Linked DNA regions of Homo sapiens: regions 1 and 3 are each linked to region 2. The links are contacts of gene promoters, found by promoter capture Hi-C in blood cells and fetal thymus (Javierre and others, 2016). All regions are on one chromosome and are shown on one strand. The core of a region is centred on a gene start or on the middle of the fragment in contact, and the rest is flanking DNA. Distances in the headings are between cores, read along the strand shown. Region 1 overlaps PRR16 (proline rich 16). Region 2 holds the start of FAM170A (family with sequence similarity 170 member A). Region 3 overlaps PRR16 (proline rich 16).

The links. The method cuts DNA at HindIII sites, captures the fragments that hold promoters and counts their contacts. A CHiCAGO score of 5 or more calls a contact.
Region 1: a contact is called between a fragment that was not itself captured here and the fragment with the promoter of FAM170A in region 2, in 1 of 17 cell types (neutrophils). The highest score is 7.8, in neutrophils.
Region 3: a contact is called between a fragment that was not itself captured here and the fragment with the promoter of FAM170A in region 2, in 1 of 17 cell types (neutrophils). The highest score is 6.7, in neutrophils.

The regions. Positions count from the first base shown.
Region 1 is chr5:120,584,225-120,588,623 of GRCh38, reverse strand. The region is part of intron 1 of PRR16 (proline rich 16); the gene reads right to left. Among named protein-coding and RNA genes, the nearest start is that of PRR16, 120 kb to the right of the region's middle. The HindIII fragment of the contact is 5,467 bases long and covers 1-4,399 here.
Region 2 is chr5:119,628,089-119,632,660 of GRCh38, reverse strand. It overlaps FAM170A (family with sequence similarity 170 member A), which reads right to left and starts at 3,103. Exons shown (of 5, transcript NM_001367956.1): 1 at 2,823-3,103. The coding sequence starts at 2,892. The HindIII fragment of the contact is 9,079 bases long and covers 1-4,572 here.
Region 3 is chr5:120,505,195-120,509,264 of GRCh38, reverse strand. The region is part of intron 1 of PRR16 (proline rich 16); the gene reads right to left. Among named protein-coding and RNA genes, the nearest start is that of PRR16, 43 kb to the right of the region's middle. The HindIII fragment of the contact is 2,899 bases long and covers 1,164-4,062 here.

The DNA of each region.
Region 1 (4,399 bases), core at 982-3,481, 960 kb before region 2:
CTGTAGTCTATATGTATGTAATAGCATTATGTCTAAAAAAATGTGCATACCTTAATTAAAAATACTTTATTTCTAAAAATGTTAATGGTCATCTGAGCCTTCAACAAGCTGAAATCCTTCTAATGGTAGAAGCTCTTGCCTTGTTAGCAATAGCTGCTGAATAATCAGGGTGGTGTTGGGCTAAGGTTGGGATGGCTGTGGCAAAGTCTTAAAATAAGACAGCACTAAAATTTGCCACGTGAATGGACTCTTGCTTTCACAAAAGACTTACGTGTAGCATGAGAGGCTGATAGCATTTTACACACAGTAGAATTTCTTTCAAAATTGGAGTCAATCCTTTCAAACCCCGCCATAGCTTTAAAAACTAAGTTTATGCAATATTCCAAATCTGTTATGTCATCAATGTTCACAACATTTTCACCAGAAGTAGATATCATCTCAAGAAACCACTTTGTTTGCTCATACATAAAAAGAAATCTCTCATCCATTAAATTTTTATCATAAAATTGCAGCAATTCAGTTATATCTTCAGGCACTACTTCTAGTTCTCTTGCTATTTACACATAGGCAGTTACTTCCTCCACTGAAGTCTTTAACCTCTCAAAGTCATCCATGAGGGTTGGAATCAACTTCTTCCAAACTCCAGTTAATGTCAACATTTTGAATTCTTCCCATGAATCACAAACGTTCTTAATGGCATCTATAATGGTGAATCTTTTCCAAAATGTTTTTAATTTACTTTTCCCATATCCATCAGAAGAATTACTATGTATGGCAGCAATAACCTTATGAAATATTACTCTTAAATGATAAGACTTTAAAGTCAAAATTACTCCTTGATCTATGAGCTGCAGAATGGCTGTTGTGATAACAGGCATGAAAACAACATTAATTTATGTACATCTTCATCAGAGTTCTTAGTTGACCAGGTGCATTGCCAATGAGCAGTGATATTTTAGAAGAAATATTTTTTTCTGAGTAGTAGGTCTCAACAGTAGTCTTAATTTATGCAGTTTATCGTGCTGTAAACAGATGTGCTTTCATTCAGGCTTTGTTGTTCCATTTCTAGAGCAAGGGCAAAGTAGATTTAGCATCATTCTTAAGGGCACCAGGATTTTCAGAATGACAGATAAGCACCAGCTTCAACTTAAAGTCATCAGGTGCATTAGCCCCTAAAAACAGTGTCAGAATGTCCTTTGAAACTCTGAATCCAGGCACTGACTTCTCTCCAGCTATGAAAGTCCTAGGTGGCATCTTCTTTCAATAGAAAGCTATTTCATCTTCATTGTAAATCTGTTATTTAGTGTAGCCACCTTAATCAATTATCTTAGGTCTTCTGGATAACTTGCTACAGCTTCTCCATCATCTGCTGCTGCTTTATATTGCACTTTTATGTTATAGAAATTGTTTATTTCCTTATCCCCATGATAAAACCATTGCTAGCTCCAAATTTCTCTCCTACATCTTCTTCACCTTTTAGCCTTTATGAAGTTTCTCAGCCTTCACAGAATTGAAGAAACTTAGGGATTTGCTCTGGACCAGGTTTTGGCTTAAGGAAATGTTTAATCGTCTATCCAGATCACTAAAACTTTCTCATCAGCAATAAGGCTGTTTTGCTTATCATTTGTGTGTTCACCAGAGAAGTACTTTTAATTTTCTTCAAGAATCTTTCCATTGAATTCACAACTTGGCTAACTGTTTGGTGCAAGAGGCCTAGCTTTTGGCCTGTCTTGGCTTTAGACATGCCCTCCTCACTAAGTTTAATCATTTCCAGCTTTTCACTGAAAGGAGAGATGTGGGACTCTTCCTTTCACTTGAATGCTTAGAGGTCATTGCAGGGTTACTAACTGGTCAAATTTCAATATTATTGTGTCTTAGGGAACAGAGAGGACCAAGGAGAGGAAGAAAGACGGAAATGGCCAATGAGTGTAGTAGTCAGAACATACACAACATTTCTCAATTAGTTGGAAGTCTTATATAGGCATTTTTGTGGCACCCCAAAGAATTACAATAGTAACATTGAAGACCACTGATCACAGATCACCATAACTGATGTAATAATAATGATTATTATTATTGTAGGGATTACCAAAATGTGACAGAGAAATACAAAGTAAGCACACGCTGTTAGAAAAAAAAAGTGCTGACAAATTTGCTAGACACAGGGTTGCCACAAACCTTCAATTGGTGAAAAACACAATAACTGAAGCACAAAAAAGTGAATCGTAATAAAATGAGGTATGCCAGTATTACTTTAGAAGATAATTTATTATTACAGTTGAAATAAAGATAAAATTATGCTTTCCTTCCTCTAAGTAGTTTGGTAAATTAGGTCTCTCTTTTTTTAAGACCTATAACCCAGTCAATTATTTTTTACAGTTGTTGCACATATTCCATTTAACAATTAAGATGTTGTTGTGTTCATCAATCAAAAACATATTTTTTTTTTTTTGAGATGGAGTCTCGCTCTGTTGCTGGGCTGGAGTGCAGTGGCACAATCTCAGCTCACTGCAACCTCCACCTCCCTGGTTCACATGATTCTCCTGTCTCAGTCTCCTGAGTAGCTGGGACTACAGGCACGTGCCACCACGCCCAGCTAATTTTTGTATTTTTAGTAGAGACAGGGATCACCATGTTGGCCAGGATGGTCTCGATCACTTGACCTTGTGATCCACCCTCCTCGGCCTCACAAAGTGCTGGGATTACAAGCATGAGCCATCGCACCCGGCCCAAAAATACATTTTTGTATTTTATTTCTCTATGTAGTAAATAAACTTCAAGATAACAGGGATCCTGGAAATGAAGGTAATACCTTCATTTCATTTCAGGAAATGTACCTGAAACACATACGTTCAGCTTGAAATGCTAACTTGAAGTATTGAATAACACAGCTGAAGTTCTTCATGGAATGCAAATATTATGGGAGACAAAAAAAATTAAGCTACATTATCTAGGGGAGATGGCAAAGGAGTGGGGTAGTGTGAAGAAGGAGCTTTTTTTTTTTTTTAGACCAAGTCTCACTCTGTCTGCCAGGCTGGAGTGAACGACACGATCTCAGCTCACTGCATCCTCCAATTCCTGGGTTCAAGAGATTCTCCTGTCTCAGCCTCGTGAGTAGCTGGATTACAGGCACTTGCCCCCTTGCCTGTGTAATATAATATAATTTTTATATTTTTAGTAGAAGCGGGGTTTCACCATGTTGGCCAGGTTGGTCTCGAACTCCTGACCTCAAGTGACCTGCCCATCTCAGCCTCCCAAAGTGCTGGGATTACAGGCATGAGCCACCATGCCCAGCTGAGCTTTTTAATTCTAAACCAAACAGAAAACCTTGTCCTTCATTCTTCAAATCAGCTCAGTTTTCTTACATTATTGTGTAATTGTATGTGCTGTTAGCCCAACTGACTCAAAATTTAAACAATAAGAAGCATAGCCCTCAATAAAGAAACACATTTTCCTCAGGCATATAGTTGGAATTGACATATCTGTCTTATTCTTATTTAACAATTCAAAGTCCATTAATTTTAAAGCTGTTTTAACAATTGAGTCTTTCCCAAGGTGGAAGGGCAAATATTTTGTTGTTTAGTTGAAAGAGTACTTTCGAGAGACTGAAAACAACAGCTAAGATGATCTAGTGAGGCAGAAAGACCAGGGGCTTGAAATCAGAGGAGAGGAGTTTCAGCCCCCTTCTGCTTTGACGAAGATTGAAATGATCCAGTGTCTACAAGTCTTGGTGTCTCTATAGCACCACCTGTCTTATGGGATCATTGGGAAGGAAAATAAGATAACATATGAAAGTAGCATCCAGAGGCCCTTCTACATAGAAGACTCTTAAACACAGACGACTACTATTTTATAAGTATTGTGATCTTAAACATGACATTTGAAGTTAGAAATCAGAAGTATTACTCCTGGTTGAGGAAATTACTAAGTGTTTGATCATGGGTTATTCACAACCCATACAAAATATCTCTTAGTCCATTATAAAATGCAGATAATCTACTCTCTGTGCCTATCTAAAAAAATGATTTAAGAACAAATTAGAAAATGCCTGGGGAACAGAATATCAATATAAATTTAGTATAATTAATTTCAAATAGCATTCATAAAATACTTTTTAAAATTCAAGAATAAGAGCAAGAAAAAATTTTAGCAATTAAATGTTTAGTCTATTAATCAACTGTGGTATCTTTTCATTTTCATAGACCAATTTATTACCCTATATTTAGCTAGAATTATACAACTACGTGCTACATGCCCTCTAAGATTCTTTCCAACTCATAAGGCTTATAATTTTTGATGTCCTCTTTTAAAAACTCCTTACCAAGTCTCTAAGATAGTTCTCAAGAAAACAAAGGCATTTTATATAGTCATTTCAGGTAAGTCTTTTCAATAATAAACT
Region 2 (4,572 bases), core at 1,854-4,353:
TGACCTATGTCAGGTGTAGTGAACACACATGGTTTGTGAGACAGGCTTCTGGTGGATACTCCAGTATTTAATTACAGTCAACAGGTATTTTGATAGTGTATCAATAGGAACATAGGCCTGTGTGGTGACTATGAGTACGTCTGAAGCGTAAGAGTGATACATACCAGATAGCCTTTGATATGTGTAGATTTGTGTGGGTATATTGTAGAAACATGTGTCTGTGTCTGTGGAGTTTGTGTGCATAGTTTTGTGTTTACAACCCTGAAATTATGCAATATGTAATTTTTCCTGATTGTATGGTGTGGCTTGTATTTATAATGTACATTAATTCATTCATCTGGCAATATTTTCATGAACAGCTACCATGAATCAGACACCAGTCCACTCTTCTAGGCTCTAGGAATACTGAACAAAACAGTCCTTCTTCTAAGTGGACTTTCCATTCTAGACAAGGAAGACAGACATTAAGCAGAAATATATAAGTATATCATAGGTCAGCTCATTATGAATTTATAAGGGTCATCAGATTTAGCAAACAAAAATAGCTGATGCCAAGTTAAATTTGAATTTTAGATAAATTACAAATAATTTTTTTAGCGTAAGTATGTCCCGTGCAATATTTGTCATACTTATTTTTAGTGTCAGTATGTTCCATAAAATATTTGGGACACACTTATACTAAAAAATCATTGGTGGTTTATCTGATATTCAAGTTTAACTGAACATCCTGTATTTTATCCGGCAACCCTAATAAGGGGATGGTGGTGAATCTTTGTTTCGTTGTGGTCTATGCAAAGCAGGCCTGGCTCTGCTACACAATGTGTTGCAGATATGGCATGTATGATGTGTGACTGGCTCTTAAAGAGGTATTTAGAGATAGTTTAACATAGATGTGTTTGTGTGAGAGTTGAGGAGACACACACACACACTCCCCACACACAAGAAATCTCTGTAGGAAGAAAAGACTGTCACACACATGGGTTGTGTGAGTATGTAATAGAGGAACGGTATGTGTATATAACTATATCCACTGTGTGTGGAGGTGTGTGACTCTTTCTCTGTATCAGAGTATATATGGGCATATGAGTGACTGTCTCCTGGAATACCCTTAACAAAAATTCGGTATACACTGTTATGTGTATTGAGTGTTGCCCAGGCCCAGGCATGGTGATAGGAAGTTCACCCCGCAGACCCCACCACTGTGCTCCCATTATCTCCAGTCCTCCCCCTCCCAACACACACACACATGTGCACACACAGACACACACACAGGCAGACAAAACATTCTGAAATGTAAGGGTAGATGAAGGAGAGGAAAACCATTGCCTTCCCCTTCCTGTCCCAGCCCCCTGCTCTCCATGCCTACTCTCCACGCCTCCATTCCCAGGGCTCAACCTACAGGTCTTTATGCCTCATAGGCGCTGCTGAGCTCTAATCGGGGCAGAAGCCTCCAGGGCCATCTCTGGGGCAGGCTCCTTTCTGCCCTGTCTCCTGCATGTGAGCATCCCCCTTTCAGGATAAGTGGCTTGTTTACATTTAATACATGCCATTATCATGCAGCCTGGGAAGTAAATTGACAGCGATCTGAGGCCCTTACCCTGTGCTTCATTTCCTCTGGGAAGTCCCACACTGTGGATTCACAAACTCTATTGGATTAATTGGTTAATTCTTCCCGCTGAAGCAATCAAACCTCCGTGGTTTCACTATGACGCCATCCCTAAACAAGTGTTTAATCTACTTTCTAACAAGCATTTCACTTCTCAAGATATTTTTCAACAAGGCCTTTAACTCATTGGGCTACTCTCGTTTCTGCTAAAAGGTGTAGTGCAAATCATAGACTTCTACCAGCACCCTTCACACCTTCCACCTCAGTCACCCCAGAGAAAGAGCAAATAAAGAGAATACGAGAGAAAGATGAGACTCAGGCTGCATCACTGGGTCTTTGTAAGTGGGTCCCCCGCCTGCCTGAGACTGGCATAGTTCCAGGTACCAGCAGCCCCAGAGCAAAAGTTCTCAGCCCAGCAGGGTTGGCTTTCTGTGTGCCAGTGGCATCTGAACTTCCTGTCCGTCTCACATCTGGGTACCCTCAAGATGGATGTGCGGGCATCAGCCAACAGCCAGGTCTTCCCCTCCCTACTGCATAGGTGGTACATTCTCCTCAGTTTCTCCTCCCTAAAGAAGGCTCAGGCTGGCCGGGAGCGATGGCTCACGCCTATAATCCCAGCACTTTGGGAGGCCGAGGCAGGTGGATCATGAGGTCAGGAGATCGAAACCATCCTGGCTAACACGGTGAAACCCTGTCTCTACTACAAATACAAAAAAAAAAAAAAAAAAAAAAATTAGCCAGGCGTGGTGGCGGGCGCCTATAGTCCCAGCTACTCGGGAGGCTGAGGCAGGTGAATGGCGTGAACCTGGGAGGCGGAGCTTGCAGTGAGCCGAGCTCACACCACTGCACTCCAGCCTGGGCGACAGAGCAAGACTCTGTCTCAGAAACGAAAAAAAAAAAAAAAAGGAGGCCGAGGCAGGCGGATCAGGAGGTCAGGAGATCGAGACCATCCTGGCTAACACGGTGAAACCCCGTCTCTACTAAAAATACAAAAAATTAGCCGGGCGTGGTGGTGGGCACCTGTAGTCCCAGCTACTCGGGAGGCTGAGGCAGGAGAATGGCGTGAACCCGAGAGGCAGAGCTTTCAGTGAGCCAAGATCGCGCCACTGCACTCCAGCCTGGGCGATAGAGCGAGACTCCGTCTCAAAAAAGAAAAAGAAGGCGGCTCAGGCTGGCCAGTGACGCTTGTGCCCCAGAAAGTTTGCCCCGCACATACCTCCTCCCTTCTCAGCGGTTTCCTGGGACTCTTCATTTTCCAAATGTTTCCTCTTTTGTCGTCGTTTCATGATATCAGCTAGAAGAGTTTCTAGAAGATGCTTAATGTCCACCTCCCACTTTTTCCTGTAGATTGGCCCTTCTTGGCTCTCAGGAAATTCATTAAAAAGATTCAGTACGAGTAAACGTAGTTGAATCTCCGAGATAGCTAAAGAACTCAGACCGCTTAGTGAAGGAGCAGCACTGCCCAGTGCCCACTACACTGCAGGGCTGTTAAGGTTCAAAGGTCACCAGGCCCATCGCAGATTCTCTGACATCAATGATGACATCACGGCGTTCTACGGACCTAGGTCCAACACAGTCTGTGCAACTGCAGAGACATCATTTTCAAAAACAATTCCTTTTTTCCAATAGAAGTCCTCTAATGAATTCAACTCTCCCGTATTTCAAATGTGGCAGAATATTTTGAGATGTTAACATGTTCTGTTTAATTTTTTTCTTTTCTTCTTTTTTTTTCACCCTTTCCCTTCTGGACTCAAGCAGGTAGCAGGCTTTGTGTTCATTGCTCAGAGGAGGGGTATGGCAGGGCTGAAAGCAGCAATAGCATGTTAATCATCTTGACTTTTCTTTCTTTTTTTTTTTTTTGTTGTTTTTATTTTGTTTTGTTTGTTCAGAGACAGGGTCTCTCTCTGTTGCCCAGGCTGGATTGCAGTGGTGTGATCATAGGGTCACTTCAGCCCCTAGGCTCAAGTGATCATCACACTTCAGCCTCCCGAGTAGCTGGGACAACAGGCACCAGACACGAGGCACCACACCCGGCTAATTTTTTTTTTTTTTTTTTTTTTTGAGAAACAGGGTCTCAGTATGTTGCCCAGGTTGGTCTTGAACTCCTAGCCTCAAGCTATCCTCCTGCCTCAGGCTCCCAAAGTGCTAGGATTGTAGGCATGAGCCACCACACCCCACCTGACTTTTATTTCTAAAATCTCAAACTCTGTAGGAAAGAGGAAAGTTAGCAGAAACATAACGGAAGCAGGATTTTTTTTAACTAGGCATGCCCCCTTCTTGCTCTACTATAGTGTTGAGAGGTACTGATTAGGTCAGAGAGAGAGAGGGATCTTCAAACTATGGAGGAGAGGAGCCCTCTAAAATGTGGCTGAAGAGGTACATGTGGCAAAAACTTCAAGAAGGGCTGCCTGTATTATGCGTACAGGCAGAATCATGGCGACCTATCTCACACATGGCATAGGAGCCACACCACCTAAAGACTCCCTGGCAGCTGAGCTGATGGGCATCTAAACTTCAGCTGTATGCTCCAATAACCAGAGACTATGCTCTCACCCCACCCTCAAAACCTCAGCCCTGTATGATTTCCAAATAGGGAGGGGTGGAAATCCAAAGAGGACATCAACAGAACCAAGGCTTAAATTACAAATTAAATGGAGTTACATAAGAAAATTGCATACTATTTCCTGCACATCTCTGCTCATGGGCTGAAATGTATACCAGTTATAAGTGGCAACCCATCTGGATCTTCCTGATTCCAATCTAAAATTAGAGACACCTTATTTGGGGCAGTGGCCCCAGTCCAGTGGGACTATTAGTTGACAAGTATGAGGGGGACTCCCAGAAATCACTGCATTAAAAAAGCAGTAGAAATACCCAGAGGACCAAGATGGGCCCAAATTTGAAAGGGCACTGCAGACTGTCCCCAGGCAGAAGGAGAATGAAGATAGGGCAAATGTAGCCTTGTA
Region 3 (4,070 bases), core at 1,364-3,863, 880 kb before region 2:
ACAGATGTATGATTACACCATAGAGGGCCTGTGGTGCTTATAAACCATGTGAGCTAAAGTATTTACAAGATGAATACTAGAAACACAAAACACATGTGTACATAAAAGACAAAGATTTACTGTGCTACTACATTTTGCCAGCTAATTAAAAATTCACTATCGAGATTCACAGGCAACATAAACATAAGACAGAGCTATATAATCTAAACAACCTATTTTACAGAAAGCTAGTCCCATCAGTGTATATTTTCAACTTCACAATTTTTATTTGACTAAGCAAATTATCTTTACTATCCCCCCCCTCACCCAACTAAAAGTTACAGGTTATATACAAAAAGGAGCATATAGTAATAAATATTTATTTTCAGACAATGATAGCCCTAGACCTTCTTATGACATGATTTAGCTTATGCCAGGGCAGCATTTATATATTTAATATATTCAGTGGTTGATAAAGTATATAATTGTATGATAGCTATTGTCCTTAAACTAATGCTTTAAAACCTAAGATGATCCCTGTATATGGGGAAAACACTCAAAGTAAAAATGTAAAATATTTGCAGAATGACGTTATCCAAATAAGTCTCTGTTAATTAAAGACACAATTTATAAGGATATTCTGGATATACTGGAGAAGATTGAGCCCTACAAATACGGAAATCTAATGATATGGGGAGGGGCTAACACCATTGTTCTAAAGCCTTTCTTTTTTCTAATTTCTAAAGCAACTGAGGCTTCCTGGGTTGTTACCCGTCTGAAGAAAGCATCAAATACACTACTTATATAATATTGCAGCAGACTGCTACAGAGATTAAATTGTCATCAGACTCCACACATTCTCCTTTAAGTTATTGTAACAGTTAAAAATTGTGTTCAATTGCATATAAAAGAAAACCCAAACAACACTGTTTTCAGCACACAGAGTTTTGCATAACAAGAAGTCAAATTTCAAGCAATCCAGGATGATGTAACAACCACAAGTGTATAGTAACTACTGCAGATGCCATTCATCTCAGCATATAGTTTTCGTCCTCATCTTCTCAAGATGGAAGTTTTGTCTCCTTGCATGATATTCCTATTTTTATTCCAGGAAGGGGAAAGGGAAGAAAAGGAAGGAAAAAGAGGAAAGGTATGTGCAGCTGAGTCTGCTCCCTTTAAAAGCTTTCCCAGAAAACCCGCCAATGACATACTTAGGCACCACCAGTCTGACTGCACCACAATTTAGTAGGAGAGGTTGAGAAATATAGTTATTTAGTGGGCACATTAGTGTCTCAAACCAAAGTGAGGTTCTGATGTTAAGGAAGAAGGAGGGAATAAATAGTGGGTAGGCAAGTAGCAGTATCTGCCCTTGTTATAAATGCACTGCTTTGTCATCCAGCTGTCATCTAACCCAATAGAATATGGTTTTGAAAGTCTCTGAAAAATAGAAAGTTTACATTGATTCTTGCATCAGACAGTAATTTTTTTTAAAGACACCCAAGCTCAAACTGTCATATTTAACAATTCAGACCAACCTTAAAAAAAATGGTTAACTAGCGTGCCTTTTCCTTAGCAGTTGTTGGTAAGAAAATAAAAAAGCAACTTTTAATTAAAAAAATATAAAACAAAGCAAAATGAAACCATAACAATGACAAAAACACTGAATATGAGTCTTCAGGCTTTATATATACAAACTATGTCTAAGTCATGTCAGTCCAACATTTTGTCATCGTTCTCTCCTTACTATTAATCCTGAAGGAATCACACTTTTCTGTAAGATGATCAAAATAAATTGATGAGGTACTCCATCTGTTCTGCATGCAGTCACACATTTGCCACTTTTGCTAACTGTAAGGTTTTTCACACTGAGAAACACTGCTGATAAATCAGGAATGATGATCACTGAAACATTTGTTTCGCAATTTAAGTAAAATACTTCATGTACATATTCCATCAAAAATGGAAATAAGTTGTTCATGTCTGTTTTATTTTTCACAGCATAGGTATATATAACATAAAAATGCCTTAAAGGGTAGAAATCTTTAAATATTGTAGATGCAAGGTATTATATATCTCATACAAACTGCATTTGTGGCATACTATGCAAGGGATGGTGCCCTTATGTTTCTAGTTTCTTTAGGGATTCTAGATATATTCTCAAAAATAAAAATAGGAGTGTCCTTTAAGACAAATCATCACAGAAAGGATTTCTCCTATTGTATTTCTTTAGCCTGGTATTACCACTGGTAGAAAGTTGAAATGAATGGAGCAGTAGACATTAAATTTACTTCCCAAGGCCATTAACAGTTGCCTTGCCTTCTTCTATTGAGGCCAGAAAGCTAAAATACTGACCCCCATTAGCCTCCCTTCTGATCTTGGGACCCCACTGTGCTCAAAGATAAGATGGGAACAAATGGGAAACTTAAAAGTATAGGCTCAGTTGGCAAGCTCTTCTTAATATTTTTTTAGTCTTTTCCTCCTCTGCCTTTTTTTTTGGCCTGGAAACTGATGTGACACATAGAGATGCAGCAGCCATCTTGCCACCATAAGAGAAAAGTCATACAACATGTCTAGAATAGAAAGGATGAATGGATAGAGAAATAGAAAGATAGAAGATGCCTGGGCCTTTGATAACACTGTGGACCTGTTGCTGTATCCCTGGACTGCCTGCCCCAGAGTAATGCAAATCAAAACTATGATACGGTATCATCTCACTCTGGTTAAAATGGCTTTTACCCAGAACTTCTTGTTATATAATAAAAATGGCCAGCATAACTTTAAGCCACCGTTAATCATGTTTTCCATAATTCATGGCTGAATACAGTACTAACTGATACAAATCAGTTGAGCTTACGTTATATTTATTCATTGTACATCAGGCCATATCTCTAACAGATTTTTATTTATTTATCTTTAGAAATAGGTAATCAAAATACATTTCAATATATTTTAATATTGTTATGCAAGAATTTATTCTAAAATAAAATTGTATTTATCTTTTCCTTAAAAAAAGATATATGTGAAATAAGTTATAAAGAATACCTAAAACCTACTTTTTATGAAAATTGCAAATTAAAACAAGCATACCCACATGGTAACTCAATGAGAACTCATGTGAAAGACCCTCCACAGCCTCTGTACAGAATATGTATTTGTGTACTTGTTTATTTGTAAAGCATCATTTCTAAGAAATCAATACTTTTAAGTTCTGAAGGCAAGAAAAGTTTCATTGGTTGTCATATGATACAGGCTTACAAGTGAACATGATGAAGTAAATGTGATGAAACTAGATGCACTCTATGTAGAAAAAATGTGTATATATATATATATATATATATACACACACACACATACACACATATATATCATCCCTATGTATGTATATATATACATATTACTCATACACATATGTATACGCGTGTGTGTATATACATACATATATACATACTTTCAGAAGAGAAGCAGTAAATTTAAAATGTATATATCTATATCAGTTTAAAGTAGACATGCTAAATAATTCATGAAAATTTATTTGTTTTATAGCTTTTGAGAAATTAATCAAAGACAAAGGGACAACAGAAGGTTCTGAACTGTTTAAAACTTGACTCTGCAGCAATCTGTTATAAAATAAAAGTGTAAAATCCCAATTCACTTTTTTCATTGAAATAACTGACACTTGTACAGTCGCCAAATGCATTCAATCTTCATCCTCCAGTGATGGATAGCCTGATCTTTCTTATGATAAATAATCTCAAAGTAAATTTTGAGAAACAAGTTCTGGAATTTCAGTTTCAACTACTCAAGTCCTCTCCAAGTATAAAGTGGGGTACAAAGGAGCCCATTTGGGAAGTCCATTTGTGATTGGACACCTGCCCAAGCAGGAGGCAACAGCCACATTCAATACCTTTTAAGCAACCTATTCCCTGCCCTGTAAGTGTTCTTATCCAGGACTTGGATTGTTTTAATGCATTTGCTCAGGAATGCTTTAATAACCAAATGCATTAGAAATTGTTTCTTTATTAAAGACCCCTTCAGTATTTCTTTAGACATTAGAGTTTTCAATTCAAATATTTATGAGAAGCTTCATTAAG